Linked DNA regions of Homo sapiens: regions 1, 2, 3 and 4 are each linked to region 5. Evidence: promoter capture Hi-C in human tissues and cell types (Jung and others, 2019). All regions are on one chromosome and are shown on one strand. The core of a region is centred on a gene start or on the middle of the fragment in contact, and the rest is flanking DNA. Distances in the headings are between cores, read along the strand shown. Region 1 overlaps CNTN1 (contactin 1). Region 2 overlaps CNTN1 (contactin 1). Region 3 overlaps MUC19 (mucin 19, oligomeric (gene/pseudogene)). Region 4 overlaps CNTN1 (contactin 1). Region 5 holds the start of CNTN1 (contactin 1).

Region 1 (2,700 bases), core at 17-2,516, 190 kb after region 5:
CTTGATGCATATTACTAAATTATTTCCTGAAAATGTTGTCTTAGTTACTACTTCTTGTAGCAGTATAGGAAAATATTAATCATTGCATCCACATAAACATCGAGTATTGTTAATTTTAATGCTGTGCAAATTTTATCAAATAAAATATATATACAGCATTAAGTTGCATTTTTTATTCATATGTCATACATGTATGTTCATTCATGTAAGTTTAGCATGTTCTTTATTCATTAGTCTATTAGTATTATAATAGTCTTTCATATATTAACTGCTGTGAGTTCCTTATAGCTATGTCTGTAATCTTTTTGAAGTTTTTTCCCAATTTACATTTTGCCCTTAAAATTCATTCATAACTTTTATATATACAACTTAAATTTTTTCCTTTGTATTTTCTTATATTCAGGGAGTTGGTGTATTTATTTCCTTTTTAAGTTTCTGTAAGTTAATTTGATTTTTATATTTTGACTTTTAATTCATCTGAGTTTTTGTTGATATATGAAGTGAGATTAGAATGCTTATTGATTTTTTTCTAGCTATTTAGTTGCCTCAGTGCCCTTTATTGAGTCGTATTTCATATCTTTACCTGTTAGCACTTTCACAAATAGAGGATGCAAGCAATATAAATGTAAGCCTGGTTTAAATCTTAATTCCACCACTTACTAGTACCAGAAACACCACAATCCTGGGCAAATTGCTTAACCTACATGACTCAGGTGTTTCATCCCTAAAATGGACACAAAGAAGAACCTATATGAAGGTTTTTGTGAGGGGTGAGATAATACATGTAAGGTGTCTGGCACACAATAAATGCTCAGAAAATGTTAGTTCTTATAGAATCTGTTTGTTCTGTAAAGAACACCATTTTTTATGAAGTTTTTATTATGATTTTCAATTGGTGGGATTATAGTTATTTTATTAGCCTTGAGAAACAATTTGGTAGAGTACTTAAGCACATGGACTCTAGAGCTAAACTGCTTGGTTGTGAATCCCAACATGCCTACTAGTTAACTGTGTGACCTTAGCTACTTCACATCTTTGTGTCTCAATTTCTCTATCTGTAAAATTGAGATATTCATAGCATTTACCATAGAGATTTTCTGTGAGAACTCCAATGAGAATTAAATGTATTTACAGTGGTTAGTAGTAAGTGCTATGTATGCATTAGCTATAATTTGTTCCAAAATAGTCTTAATGTCCTTTTCAAACATTTTTCTTCTCTAATAAATTTGAGACTTATTCTTTCAAGTGTAGAGAAATCCCATTTGTGCTTTGATTGAAAGTATGTCATTTTGGAAAACTTTAAGAATATTGAGTCTTGTTATCAGGAGCTGGTATAGTTTTCCAATTTGTCAATGCTTCTTTTAAGTCTATCAATAAATATTTATAGCTTTTCATTTCTTGTACTGATTATTAAAAGTATTTCTAGGTCATCAATCGTGTGTTTGTTAATACTGCAGGCTGAGGCTTCACCTTTCTTATTTCTAAGTAGACATTGTTAGTACAAAAGAAAACTATAGTTTAGTTTATATTTATCTTCTGCTTAGTCACTTTGCTGAACTCTTAATGTTCATATTTTATTTAAATCCATTTTCTTTGATATCCTGGTCTATAATCATACCGTATGCAAAATAATAGTTCTGCATCCTCTTTTTTGATTGTTGTAAATACAATTTTTGCTTCATTTTGAACTATATTTGCCTAAGCTCCAAAACAGTGCTAAATTCTGTGTTTCCAGTATGGTAGAAGACACTGGGATAAAAAACAGACCAGACAGCGATGGGCCCTGTCTTCACAGTGTTTTAAATCTATTCCCATGGACTTAACATAATATTGATCTATCAAATCCTGTGTGTTGGTTTGCATTATTTAGGGGAGATGTTATATAACCTTCATTAGATTATTAAAAGGGCTTATGGCTGTAAAAGTTAAGAGTCTTTTATCGTAGATTCTGGATATTAGCCCTTTGTCAGAGGAGTAGGTTGCAAAAATTTTCTCCCATCTTGTAGGTTGCCTGTTCACTCTGATGGTAGTTTCTTTTGCTGTGCAGAAGCTCTTTAGTTTAATTAGATCCCATTTGTCAATTTTGGCTTCTGTTGCCATTGCTTTTGGTGTTTTAGACATGAAGTCATTGCCCATGCCTATGTCCTGAATGGTATTGCCTAGGTTTTCTTCTAGGGTTTCTATGGCTTTAGGTCTAACATGTAAGTCTTTAATCCATCTTGAATTAATTTTTGTATAAGGTGTAAGGAAGGGATCCAGTTTCAGCTTTCTACATATGGCTAGCCAGTTTTCCCAGCACCATTTATTAAATAGGGAATCCTTTCCCCATTGCTTGTTTTTCTCAGGCTTGCCAAAGATCAGATAGTTGTAGATATGTGGCATTAATTCTGAGGGCTCTGTTCTGTTCCATTGATCTATATCTCTGTTTTGGTACCAGTACCATGCTGTTTTGGTTACTGTAGCCTTGTAGTGTAGTTTGAAGTCAGGTAGCGTGATGCCTCTGGCTTTGTTCTTTTGGCTTAGGATTGACTTGGCAATGCAGGCTCTTTTTTGGTTCCATATGAACTTTAAAGTAGTTTTTTCCAATTCTGTGAAGAAAGTCATTGGTAGCTTGATGGGGATGGCATTGAATCTATAAATTACCTTGGGCAGTATGGCCATTTTCACGATATTGATTCTTCCTACCCATGAGCATGGAAT
Region 2 (2,700 bases), core at 33-2,532, 240 kb after region 5:
CCATATTTGCCTCAGAGTGCTATAGCCCTTACCTACTTCTAACTACCGTCCTCATCAGTCACTCTTTCAAAGTACCCATTTTGATTTGGCTTATATATCATTATTTATTTATTTGTCTCTTTAGCATTTTACAGTGTGTGGTACACACTCAATTTGTGATCCTAAACAATGCCTTTCACCTTTCTAAGCCTGATTTTTTCTGTAAGCCTGAAGGATTAATACATCTTTCAGGACTGATGTGCTAAATAAATGAAATAAAGTGTCTAGTTTGAAGAGTGCTGTGTTGTCTGAGTAAATGTTTTCCTTCTTTCCCTCTCTCCTTCTCTCTTTTCAATTTGTTTCCCTTTGCCTTTATCTCTGTGGGCATTTCTTCTTTTCTCCTTAGTTTCTTGCCTTGCGTCTTTCTTTTCTACTCTCTTCTCCTTCTTCTCTTTCCTTCTCCCTCATTTTCTTTCTCCACCTTCCTGAGTTCCATGCAGCACTGATCACAATGTTTGACACATATCTGTTGCTCACTAAAGACAGGATTTTTTTTAGTAAATTGAGTCACAATGGTTATGCAGCTGTCAGAACGAGCCAATATTATTGAAAATACTGAGAAGTTATACTATATTCATACTGTGCATAAACAAACAAGTCTATCCATTATGATATGACCTGTACCTGTACAGAGAAAAGCTTCCATGTTGGAGCAGCTCTAATCCTGTAGAATTACCATGTTTAAGAATAACTAATATTGTGCCTAATAATTAGTGGATATTTGTGTTTCTCTTAATATTAGGAACAACAAAACCATATCCTGCTGATATTGTAGTTCAGTTCAAGGATGTATATGCATTGATGGGCCAAAATGTGACCTTAGAATGTTTTGCACTTGGAAAGTAAGTATACTGACACTTTTATTAATATATATAGAAATAGTACCATTTTAGGAAATAAATAATTGTTTAGCTATAAACATAAAGTAATTGTCTTTTAAGTGTGTGAAACTTTAACCCTTGTATCTTCTATTTAAAGTCCTGTTCCGGATATCCGATGGCGGAAGGTTCTAGAACCAATGCCAAGCACTGCTGAGATTAGCACCTCTGGGGCTGTTCTTAAGATCTTCAATATTCAGCTAGAAGATGAAGGCATCTATGAATGTGAGGCTGAGAACATTAGAGGAAAGGATAAACATCAAGCAAGAATTTATGTTCAAGGTAGATACATTATTTTAATTTTGTATAAATTTCATCAGTATCTTATTTAGAGCCATTTCCATACATGAAAAACTACTATATAATGATTAATGGTTTTAAAAACAGTGATGCATGTTACATCATGGAGAAAGATAAAATATTTCTCATATGTCTAATGAAGTCACAACTATGAGTTATAGAAGTTACGAACTTATTACCAGTTGAACCATAGGTAATAGCAATAGATTGATAGAAGTGTTATTGGTAATTTTCAGAATATACACTTAATGTAGTTTGTTTACTCATTTTATCACTGTCTTTTTTCAGTATCTTTTTATTTATAGAAGAAGCTATGTGTTATGACTTAGTTTAAGTCAGTGGTTTGCAAACTTAAGCATGCATCAAAATCACATGGAGGGCTTGTTAAAACAGATTGCTGGGCCAAACTCTCAGAATTTTTCATTCAGAGGTCTGTTAGGGGCTCATGAATTTGTATTTTTAACAAATTCCCAAAGGATGCTGATAATATTGGTCCTGGAGTCACACTTTGAGAACCACTGGTTTAAGAAATCTTTTTTTTTTTTTTTGACAAAATTATCATGGCACAAACCTTTGATTTTCACACATTAAAATAAACTTACATTTGGGAAGACAGATTTTTTTTCAGGCCACACTGGAAACTTTCCAGACTGAAATAATTTCTATAATGTTCCACAACATGAACTTTGCAGGTCACAAGTGAATAAACATCGAGGGCTTCCACAATATTATTCGTTTTTAACTCTGGCTACTGTCCCATTTCACTTTCTCCCGTCTCTCCCAAAAAGGAATAAAAAATTTGACAGATTCACGCATTCTCTCTAAAAGTGTTGTCTCCATCTCCAGTTTTTCTTCTCTCTTAATTGCACTCCAACATGATTTGCATCTCTGCCTCTCCACAGAAACCTTTCTTTTCATGACCACAGACTTCCATATTGCTAAAGCTAATGATCAATTCTCAGTTGTACTTTTTTTTGATCTAACAGCAGTGGTTGCCACAGTTGGTCCCTCCCTTCTTCATGATTCACTTTCTGCACTTCATGTCTGCAACCTACTTTGTTATTAATTTCCTTGTATAATCTTTCATTCTCCATTGCCTTTCAACTCCATACTTTTCTAACATTGGTGTGATCAGGGTTCCATCTGTGAACCCCATCTCCATTTCAGTCACTCCATTTATGATCCCACTCGTGATCATGGCTTTAGACACACTCTGTACCCTGAATGCTCTAACCCAAACATTTACTCTGAACTTCAGACTCGTATGTCCAATGCCACAGTAACATTAATGCAATACATATCAAGTCTGCATGAAATGGCCTCCTAAAAGGAAGAAAATACTAGGTAAGGTCCTTTAAACTTTTGAAATAAATCCACCACTTTCTACTAGGTTTCTAAAGCTTATAGACCTGTTTTTATTCAACATATTAAGAAAACTACACTCCAGGTTCTCAACAGAGTAAAATTTTGAACTGTCTAATAT
Region 3 (2,700 bases), core at 46-2,545, 140 kb before region 5:
GATTTTTGTTATTTCCTGTCTTCTGCTAGTTTTGAGGTTGGTTTGCTTTTGTTTCTCTAGTACCTGTAGGTGTGATGTTAGGTTGTTACTTTAAGAGCTTTCTAACATTTTGATGTGGGCATTTGGCACTATAAACTTCCCTCTTAACACTGCTTTAGCTGTGACCCAGAGATTCTGGTATGCTGTATGTTTAAAAAATATGGAATGCCTCACGAATTTTTGTGTCATCCTTATACTAGGGCCATGCTAATATTCTCTGTATCACCCCAATTTTAGTATATGTGCTGCTGAAGTGAGCACAATAATTTCTTTGTTAGTTTTCTGCCCTGATGATCAATCTAATGCTGTCAGTAGGGTGTTGGAGTCCCCACGATTACTGTGCAGCTGTCTTTTTGTGGGTCTAGAAGTACTTGCATTATGAATCTGGATATTCCAATGCTGGGTGCATATATGTCTAGAATAGTTAATTCTTCTTCTTGAATCAAACACTTTATCACTATGTAATGCTCTTCTTTGTCCTTTTTTGCTGTTGTTGGTTTAAAGTCCTTTATGTAAGAATAGCAACTTCTGATCTTTTTTGCTTTCCTTTTGCATTGTAGATCCTTCTTTCTTTATTTTGACTCTGTGGGTATAATTACATGTGAGATGGAGCTCTTGAAGACAGCAGATGGATGGCTCTTGTTTTTGTTTGTTTGTTTTTGTTTATTTCCAACTTGCCACTCCACACCAGCTTTTTAGATGTGATTTTTATGAAACTAAGAATGATATGTTATTCTGAATCCTTTATCCATCTTGCCTTCATATGGTCAGCTGGAGTTTTCAAGAGCCTAGAAAATGCCAGTCTTGGTTAGTAAAAGTGTTTAATTTGCCCATCTTGGACTTCTATTGCATATTAAACCTATTCTCATGGGTTTATCCTCATGACTAAGGTTCCAAGAAATTTAATTAAAAAAAATTCACCCCCACACTTCCAAGAAGTCCCTATGAAACGTGAGGGAGCAACACCACAGGAATTAAAACTGAGGAGCAAAGGAAAAGCACTTCTTTCCAAAGTATTTAACCACAGCAAAAGGGCTCCAGAATAGAGTTTTGCCACAGTTGAGGAAGCCTAGGAGAAAGTACGGTTTTTGTTTCTCTTTGCATAGAGAAGCCCTTGGATGGCTTATAAGAAATGTGAATTTTTCCAAGTCTATGCTGTTCTCTGGGTTAAAAAAAAAGTCATTACTATGATCTCTGTCTCTCTTGATCTCTCTCTCTCTGTTTTACTATCTTTCCCTCAATTTCATTTTCATTTCAAATCCCCTGGAATATCTTCTTTCATCACACTTGCTGGAAGTTTCGACAGGGATTAGTCAAAGTTACAAAAGAAAGCTGTCTCTGAGTACCTCAGGCAAAAGGCCATCTTCTTTGAGAATATTTCTTCTACTATAACATGAAATATTTTCCAGATTTCAAAATTAAGTCATCTCAACTTCTTCCTCTACTACCAGGAACTACAACTTCATTACTGAACAATACCACTATTAGAAATTAATTACAAACAGGGGATTTCATTAATTACTAGTGAAATTTAGGCCCTGATAGGAGATGATAAAACTTTTCATTTGAAGACTTATTGAAGTCCGTTGAAGGTAGTCATATTAATGCTGTGGAATACCCTGAACTAAAGATTTAATTTGAAACATCATTGTTAGGACATAGCTTCCCAGAAGTAGATACCTAAATGGGGACAGGAATTTTTTTAAGTAAAGTATTTCCACACTTGTCTTTGCTAATACTACTGTCATATCAAATAAAGTCACCACTAACCAAGAATTCCAGGCTGGATAAATAAAAGATGACTGAAATAAGCTTAAGACATCTTGGGGGTCTTTTGTTTACTTGAAAGAATTAGGACAGAAAAGAATATTTTCTCTTTTCTATTAAAATGTCTGGGGGATGTAAAACAATATGGAATTTTCAGGGAAGTATATAATACAATAATACAATATACTTGTGGAAAACAACCCAGATGTTGAGAGAACATTGAAAGAGGGAATGTTGGGAAGATTTTAGAGCTTCTAGATTGCAAAGTTGGGACAGAAATATCATGAAATGAAGAAAAAAAGATCACTCATCAATTCTATATTCTATAAGAATATTATAATATTGGCCTCAATTATAACACAAAAAATTAAAAAGTTGATTCCATGGGCAATGAGAAGGGATTTTTAAAGAGGTTAATTATCATGCCCAGGTTGGATTCTTTGGGAAGATTAATTTGTCACAGGTAGCAGATTGATATGAAAGGAGAGTAAGAATAAGGGTGGAGGTATGTTGTATAGTTTGAAGTCTCTTGGAAGTGACAGATGATTAGGGACTGAAATAAGCTAGTCGTAAGGGGATGCAGAGGCGGAAAGAGTGTGCAAGATGTTGGCCAGTTAGAATCAACAAGTGTGGCTGAGGAGATAAAGGAGAGGAATAAATTTAGATGACTCCTAGTTCATGATTTGAGTGCTTGGGTGGATAGATGATGGTGCCATCTACCAAGTTTGGGAATATACTAGAGGAATTAAAAATAATATTTGATAGATGATACAGTATGGTCTGATTTTTATCGTTTGAGTTCAAATTACTCTGAGGTTTCCAGGTAGTGATGTCCAGAAGAGTTGATGAAGGTGACTGAGGCCCAGAAGAGAAGCCTATACTGGAATAGAGAAT
Region 4 (2,700 bases), core at 162-2,661, 160 kb after region 5:
AACTGTTTCCAACATGTGATGGTCATGTTTACATTGTCTTAGTCTGGCTTCATTAACTCATTCACCATTTATTTATTCAACACCCACTATCTGTAAGACACTGTGATAAACAAGTGATATACAAGATAAACAAGAGATATACAAGATAAACAAGAGATATACAATCCTTTTTTTTCCCCCTATAGACTGTAGTCTATTGGGAAACTTGGGCAATAAAATAGGTAATTACAATGAAGGCTATAGCTTTGATATCAGGAGTTAGTCTAGCTCCCTCTCTAGCTCTATCCGTCTCCTTTCCCAAGCCCCTCTGCCCTTACTTTTTGTTTAAACAGCTCTGATCATATCAAGTTATTTTGAATAACTTTAAAAAATGCAGGAAGATATACAGTCCACTGACCATATGCCTCAGTAGTGAAAAAATGTGTTTATGTATACCTGCCTCGGAATGAAGCTTCCTGTACCTCCAAATTTATAATAATTTTCCAAATATTTTCTCAGCTTTTTTCAACACTTCTTTTACAGCATCCTAGATCAAAATGATTGATTTTAGAGATTTTTATTAAATATTCTTTAACTCATTCCTACTGTATGCTAGGTACTATGCTATCTCTCAAGGATATAATGATAAGTAAATAGACAGGCTGACATGCTATCTATACTTAGGAAGTTTACAGTCTAGTGGTAAATACACATATTAAATTAAAAATATGCAAATGACAAGTCAGCTTGTCATACATGTTAACAGGGAAATTGCAAGAGCATAGAATTTCCTCATGGGATAAAAGTGAGTGGGAGAGAATTTAGATGAATGTGAAAAGACTGACTCTTGGTGAAAGTTTGATTTATTTTGAATCCTGAAGAATAAAGATTTATTCAAGACACAACATGGGGGAATAATTAGTTATTCCCACATTCTCATATTTAGTTTCATCTCATCTCATATTTCTAGATTTAAAAGTTTGGTCATGGTTTTTTAAAGATGTGAATTACCTTAAGTCTCTAAGTCAAGACTCTGTGTCTCTAAACTTGGATCAGAAACTAGCTGGAGAAATAAGAAAAGAAAAAAAAGACTGTCATGCAAATGTCTAACCATTTAAAATATGAGGATTTAAGGAGCCAAAGGCAGATCAGCAAGTGAAAGCTTTTCACTTCCGTTAACATTTCTCATTCTAAATTGGAAGTTATGTGCTATGACAACATAAGAAGAGGATTTCTAACTCAGAGTAGGAGAGCCAAGGAACATATTCTAAAGCAACTGATTTCAGAATTGAGACCTAAGTGATAATTAGGAGCTAATCAGAAGAGCAGATGGCGGAAGGAGAAAAAGTGGAGGAAGATAGCCCAGAGGAGTCAGGGAGTCAAGAAAGAAGAGGAATTTGAGAACGAGCCCAGAGGCAAGAGGGCTGAAAAGTCCTGTAGTTCAGTACTCGGAGGGTGCTGGTATAGGGGAACAGTGGCAATGTGTCACTGGGGAGGTGATAGGGAAGGCAATGAGAGACCCTTAGATTGTATTAAGAAGACAAGTGACTTGATTGAATTTTTGTCTGCAAGAAAGCTCTGGCTACTGTTGTGAAAACATTTTTGAGTGAGGCATGACTGTGAAGCAGAAAGAATACTAGAGGGTAGTGCAGTAACCTTGGATAGAAATACTAATGACCTAGTCTAGTGGTTACCAAACTTTGTTCCTCAAACACTCCCAAAATAATTTTGTAAAATTGTATATCATCTCATATACTTGTGAATTGACATAAACATTCATCATAAGTTTAAACCGTTGCAAAATGTAATTTTCAGCATATTGTAAATTTTGCCATTTTAAATTGTCTGTTGTATTACTCTTAATAGTATCCATTAGAGTCTGAATAATACCGAGATTCAATGCTCGTCATTATCTATTTAAAAATATTTGATATATCTCTTGCACAACTCTAAAAATTTTGTGCCATTTTTTTCTTTTTAATTTCTATTTTCATTCTCATGGATTTCACTCTTTTATTATATATCATATGCTCAAAAGTATTTAATTATCTAATAATGCATTTTAGTTATAAAATGGTTATAATTTAATTTTAAACATTTCCTATAAGGTTTTAAGTGTTAATTATTTTTCTAGAATGAGTTGTCAATAAAATTTTTATTATTGAACACTTGAATAAATCTATATAACTACATTTCAAATTCTGAAAAAATTGTTACTGACAAAAGAAGTACAACTTTATTGGCAATGTATAGCTTAATGTAACAGACGGGCTTTTAAAATTTTAATCCCTCTACCTTTGGGAGAATGTTACTTATTGCCAAAATTAGACAGAGTTTAATATTAATTCTGTTTTGAATTTGATCTATTGTCAAAAATTATCTTTAATAAACTTAATTTTGTTGAATGCAAAGAAATGGAAATTGCTTGACTTACGAAATAATTTAGTTGCTAGCCATTCACTTTCTCAATAGCCATACCAGTATTTCTCAACATTTATATCAGTTATCTTTTTGTTTGGTGCTCCCAAAGAGTTTACATGCTCAATCAATGCACATTAAATTTTGGGTGGGTGAGAAGTATGTCTTTCTTCTGTAAAATAAGAGGAAGGTAACTAGGAAAGAGGGAGCTGGAAAGTAGAGCCTGCACTTGTGTCTGAAGATAGAGCTGAAGATAAATGTATCTTAAGTTAATTATCTAAAATCTTTTTCCAAGTACAACTT
Region 5 (2,700 bases), core at 155-2,654:
AGTAGAGACGAGGTTTCACCGTGTTAGCCAGGATGGTCTCGATCTCCTGACCTTGTGATCCGCCTGCCTCGCCTGCCAAAGTGCTGGGATTACAGGCATGAGCCACCTCGCCCGGCCCCCACCTTCAAATGCATTAATCGGATTCCTTCAGTATTATGAAGAAAACATTATGAAGAGCCTTACCTGATGATAGTAATAACAACCGTAACCACTAAGTAGAGTCTATATTTATTAATAGCAATGTCATCTTCTCTAACAGTTGTCCAGTGTCCCAAGCCTGTCATAAGCTCTTTGAAGCTCTGTGAGAATGAGAGTTGTGTCTTATGCTCAGCACTTAAGATGGCTACTTAATTCAGATAGAAGAAGAATGTGGCTATTTGCAGGCAGAAGGCAACTTGATTCCTCACATGGTACTATATACTAAGACACCCTACACTCCCAGTTTTACACGTGGTAGTTCTAGCACGTTCCTTCATTTAAGGAGTCTCTTGAATTCCAAAATTTCCAGATTCCACCTGAATAAATGGCAGAGATGGCAACTGGACACAAAGTTATTTTACCCTGTTCCCTTCACATAAAAGGCAGGCTTGGGATCACTTAGGTTTGGGGGCATAAACATCCTCTCAGTGTCTGAGTACTAAAGAAATGATAAACTACTATCAATAGAAAAGTAACAGATCACTTAATTATCAATCAGTCTAATGGTGATTATTTTAAGACTTTTGCCACAAACTGAACTGCCCCAAAGCAAATCTCTCATGCAGTTTGGCCTTAATTTCTTTTACCCTTTTTTTTTTTTTGAGAGGTTATTATGCAGTGCTTTCCCGTTTAAAACACTGTTTCTACCAGGGAATATTAGGGGGTCTTCTGCATTACAGACTAAGCAATTCCGTCTTTTCTCAAGAAAAACTGCCATGTTACATCTGGACAAAAATGGAAACTTTAAAAAAAAACCTCACATCGTTTTATTTTCCTTTCTGTGTGTGTATTTTTTCCCACATAAGTATCTTATTATTTCCTAATCGAAGCTCATTCTTCTCTATGAGGCGCTGGCTTGGTATTTTCGCCTGACAAATCTCCCGGAGCAGATGGTCCCTTCAGGGAAGCTTCAGGAAAGTGCTGGGTGTCTAGTTATGCCTGGACCCTCCCTCCCTCTTGGGGCCCCAAATGACAAGTCATCAAACCAGTTTCTCTCCAGCAAGGGTCCTTGATCCGGTAGCAGCAGGTTTGGGTTTCAGGCACTGCAGAGACCCTTTGCAGTTGGGTTTAGCAGCTACCCAAGTCTGCAGCCTGCGCTGGTCCTGGGGGTGAGAGTGATATCCCTGTTGTCCAATCAGAGAAGCGGGTTTCCCTGTGGTCCCCGCCCCACTTTCCCTGCTGCCCCAATAACCGCCCTAAAAGGCCGGGCTTCTGCTGTCAAGTAGCCAGGGTGGGCTCCGCCGAGGCGAGGAGGGGCGCCGGTGGGGAGATGCGCTCCCAGGTGTTTGCAGCGGAAGTGGGAAACCTGTAGGGTATGGTCCAGCTGTGCCGCACCGAGGCGAGCAGGAGCAGGGAACAGGTAGGAAGCTGGACTTTTCCTTCTTTGCAGATAAAATAAAGAATGCGCATTTCCATGCTGTTGCTTCCCTTCCCCCAGCCCCGCCCAGCCCTCGTCACCCCCAAATCTCCTGTGGTCCCTGCAGCTCTCGCCGTGCGGCGCGGGAAGGACTGGGGCGGAGGTGGCTGGGGTGCGGGGAAGCAGGGGTGCGGGATGCCGGAGCCCTGGGGTGCCGGGCAAGGCAGGACGGCAGTGCCCTAGAAGAGGGCTCCGAGCTCGGGGTCTGTGTCTCGTCAACTTTCCTTTCGGAGGCTGCCGCCGCCAGCGCCGGGAACTCGCCCCAGGGATGCCATATCGCCTCGGCAGGGGAGGGGTGGGGAAGCAGAGAGGTCGGCAGCCCGGGGCCTGCAGGTCTTTTTCTCCCGACGCCGGCCCGCACCTGCTCATCTTTCCCATCCCACCTGGGCGCCTGGCTAGCGCATCCCGGAAAACCTGGGAGCGGTTGCGGAGAGGGGAGGAAGCGACTTGTTTGTCCCCTGACCCCTCTGTTAAGATCTAGCTCCCTTCAGGAGATGGGGGTGGGGAAGAATCCCTGCAACTCGAAGGGCACGTTCCGATTAATTACGTCTCCGTTGAGAAGGCACCGGCCCTTCTCCACGATCTGCGGCAGGTGGGAGGGAGAGACCGCGGAGCCACGGCCCCTTCCCTCCTAGCCTGGCGCTGTCTACGGGAACCACCTTCACACCTAGTTTCTGAAAGGTGGATTTGGCTTCAGGGATTTCCAGGGAGTCAAGTGATTGTGCCCGGATGGGCTCCGAGCGGCTGCGAGGCTGCCTCCCTAGGTGACCGCATCTGGGTAGTAGGTGTTGGCCCAGTGCCGGTTCCTGCAGGAGTCAGATTGCTGGGAGCAGTAGGCAGAAGAATTGCAGAGAGATCCGACGCTGCATCACCCTCTGGGACTGATGACACCCTGCTTTGAAAATTCCTGAAAAATTGGGATGATGGGAAAGAGGGAAAGCGGATAGCTGCGACCTTTCCTTATTTATTTATTTATTTTCATGCCAAACCGGGCATGGGTATTCGTACGTGTGCTTGTGTGTGCACATCTCCAAGGTGGAGCTATATATAGCTCCTGCATACCCAGCCCGGCTTCCCTGCTGCTG

What was found. The method cuts DNA at HindIII sites, captures the fragments that hold promoters and counts their contacts. A contact is called where the count stands out against the background at its distance.
Region 1: a contact is called between a fragment that was not itself captured here and the fragment with the promoter of CNTN1 in region 5, in 7 of the 25 tissues and cell types used here (H1 embryonic stem cells, adrenal gland, dorsolateral prefrontal cortex and 4 more).
Region 2: a fragment that was not itself captured here is called in contact with the fragment with the promoter of CNTN1 in region 5 in 3 of the 25 tissues and cell types used here (H1 embryonic stem cells, hippocampus and spleen).
Region 3: a contact is called between a fragment that was not itself captured here and the fragment with the promoter of CNTN1 in region 5, in 2 of the 25 tissues and cell types used here (bladder and thymus).
Region 4: a fragment that was not itself captured here is called in contact with the fragment with the promoter of CNTN1 in region 5 in 5 of the 25 tissues and cell types used here (dorsolateral prefrontal cortex, heart right ventricle, hippocampus and 2 more).

What each region holds. Positions count from the first base shown.
Region 1 is chr12:40,884,509-40,887,208 of GRCh38, forward strand. The region is part of intron 1 of CNTN1 (contactin 1); the gene reads left to right. Among named protein-coding and RNA genes, the nearest start is that of CNTN1, 190 kb to the left of the region's middle. The HindIII fragment of the contact is 7,874 bases long and covers 1-2,700 here.
Region 2 is chr12:40,932,680-40,935,379 of GRCh38, forward strand. CNTN1 (contactin 1) reads left to right here. Exons shown (of 24, transcript NM_001843.4): 8 at 782-881; 9 at 1,018-1,199. Among named protein-coding and RNA genes, the nearest start is that of CNTN1, 240 kb to the left of the region's middle. The HindIII fragment of the contact is 4,404 bases long and covers 1-2,700 here.
Region 3 is chr12:40,553,968-40,556,667 of GRCh38, forward strand. The region is part of intron 156 of MUC19 (mucin 19, oligomeric (gene/pseudogene)); the gene reads left to right. It also overlaps the pseudogene RNU6-713P. Among named protein-coding and RNA genes, the nearest start is that of CNTN1, 140 kb to the right of the region's middle. The HindIII fragment of the contact is 5,397 bases long and covers 1-2,700 here.
Region 4 is chr12:40,853,498-40,856,197 of GRCh38, forward strand. The region is part of intron 1 of CNTN1 (contactin 1); the gene reads left to right. Among named protein-coding and RNA genes, the nearest start is that of CNTN1, 160 kb to the left of the region's middle. The HindIII fragment of the contact is 5,315 bases long and covers 1-2,700 here.
Region 5 is chr12:40,691,035-40,693,734 of GRCh38, forward strand. CNTN1 (contactin 1) reads left to right here and starts at 1,405. Exons shown (of 24, transcript NM_001843.4): 1 at 1,405-1,558. The HindIII fragment of the contact is 18,580 bases long and covers 1-2,700 here.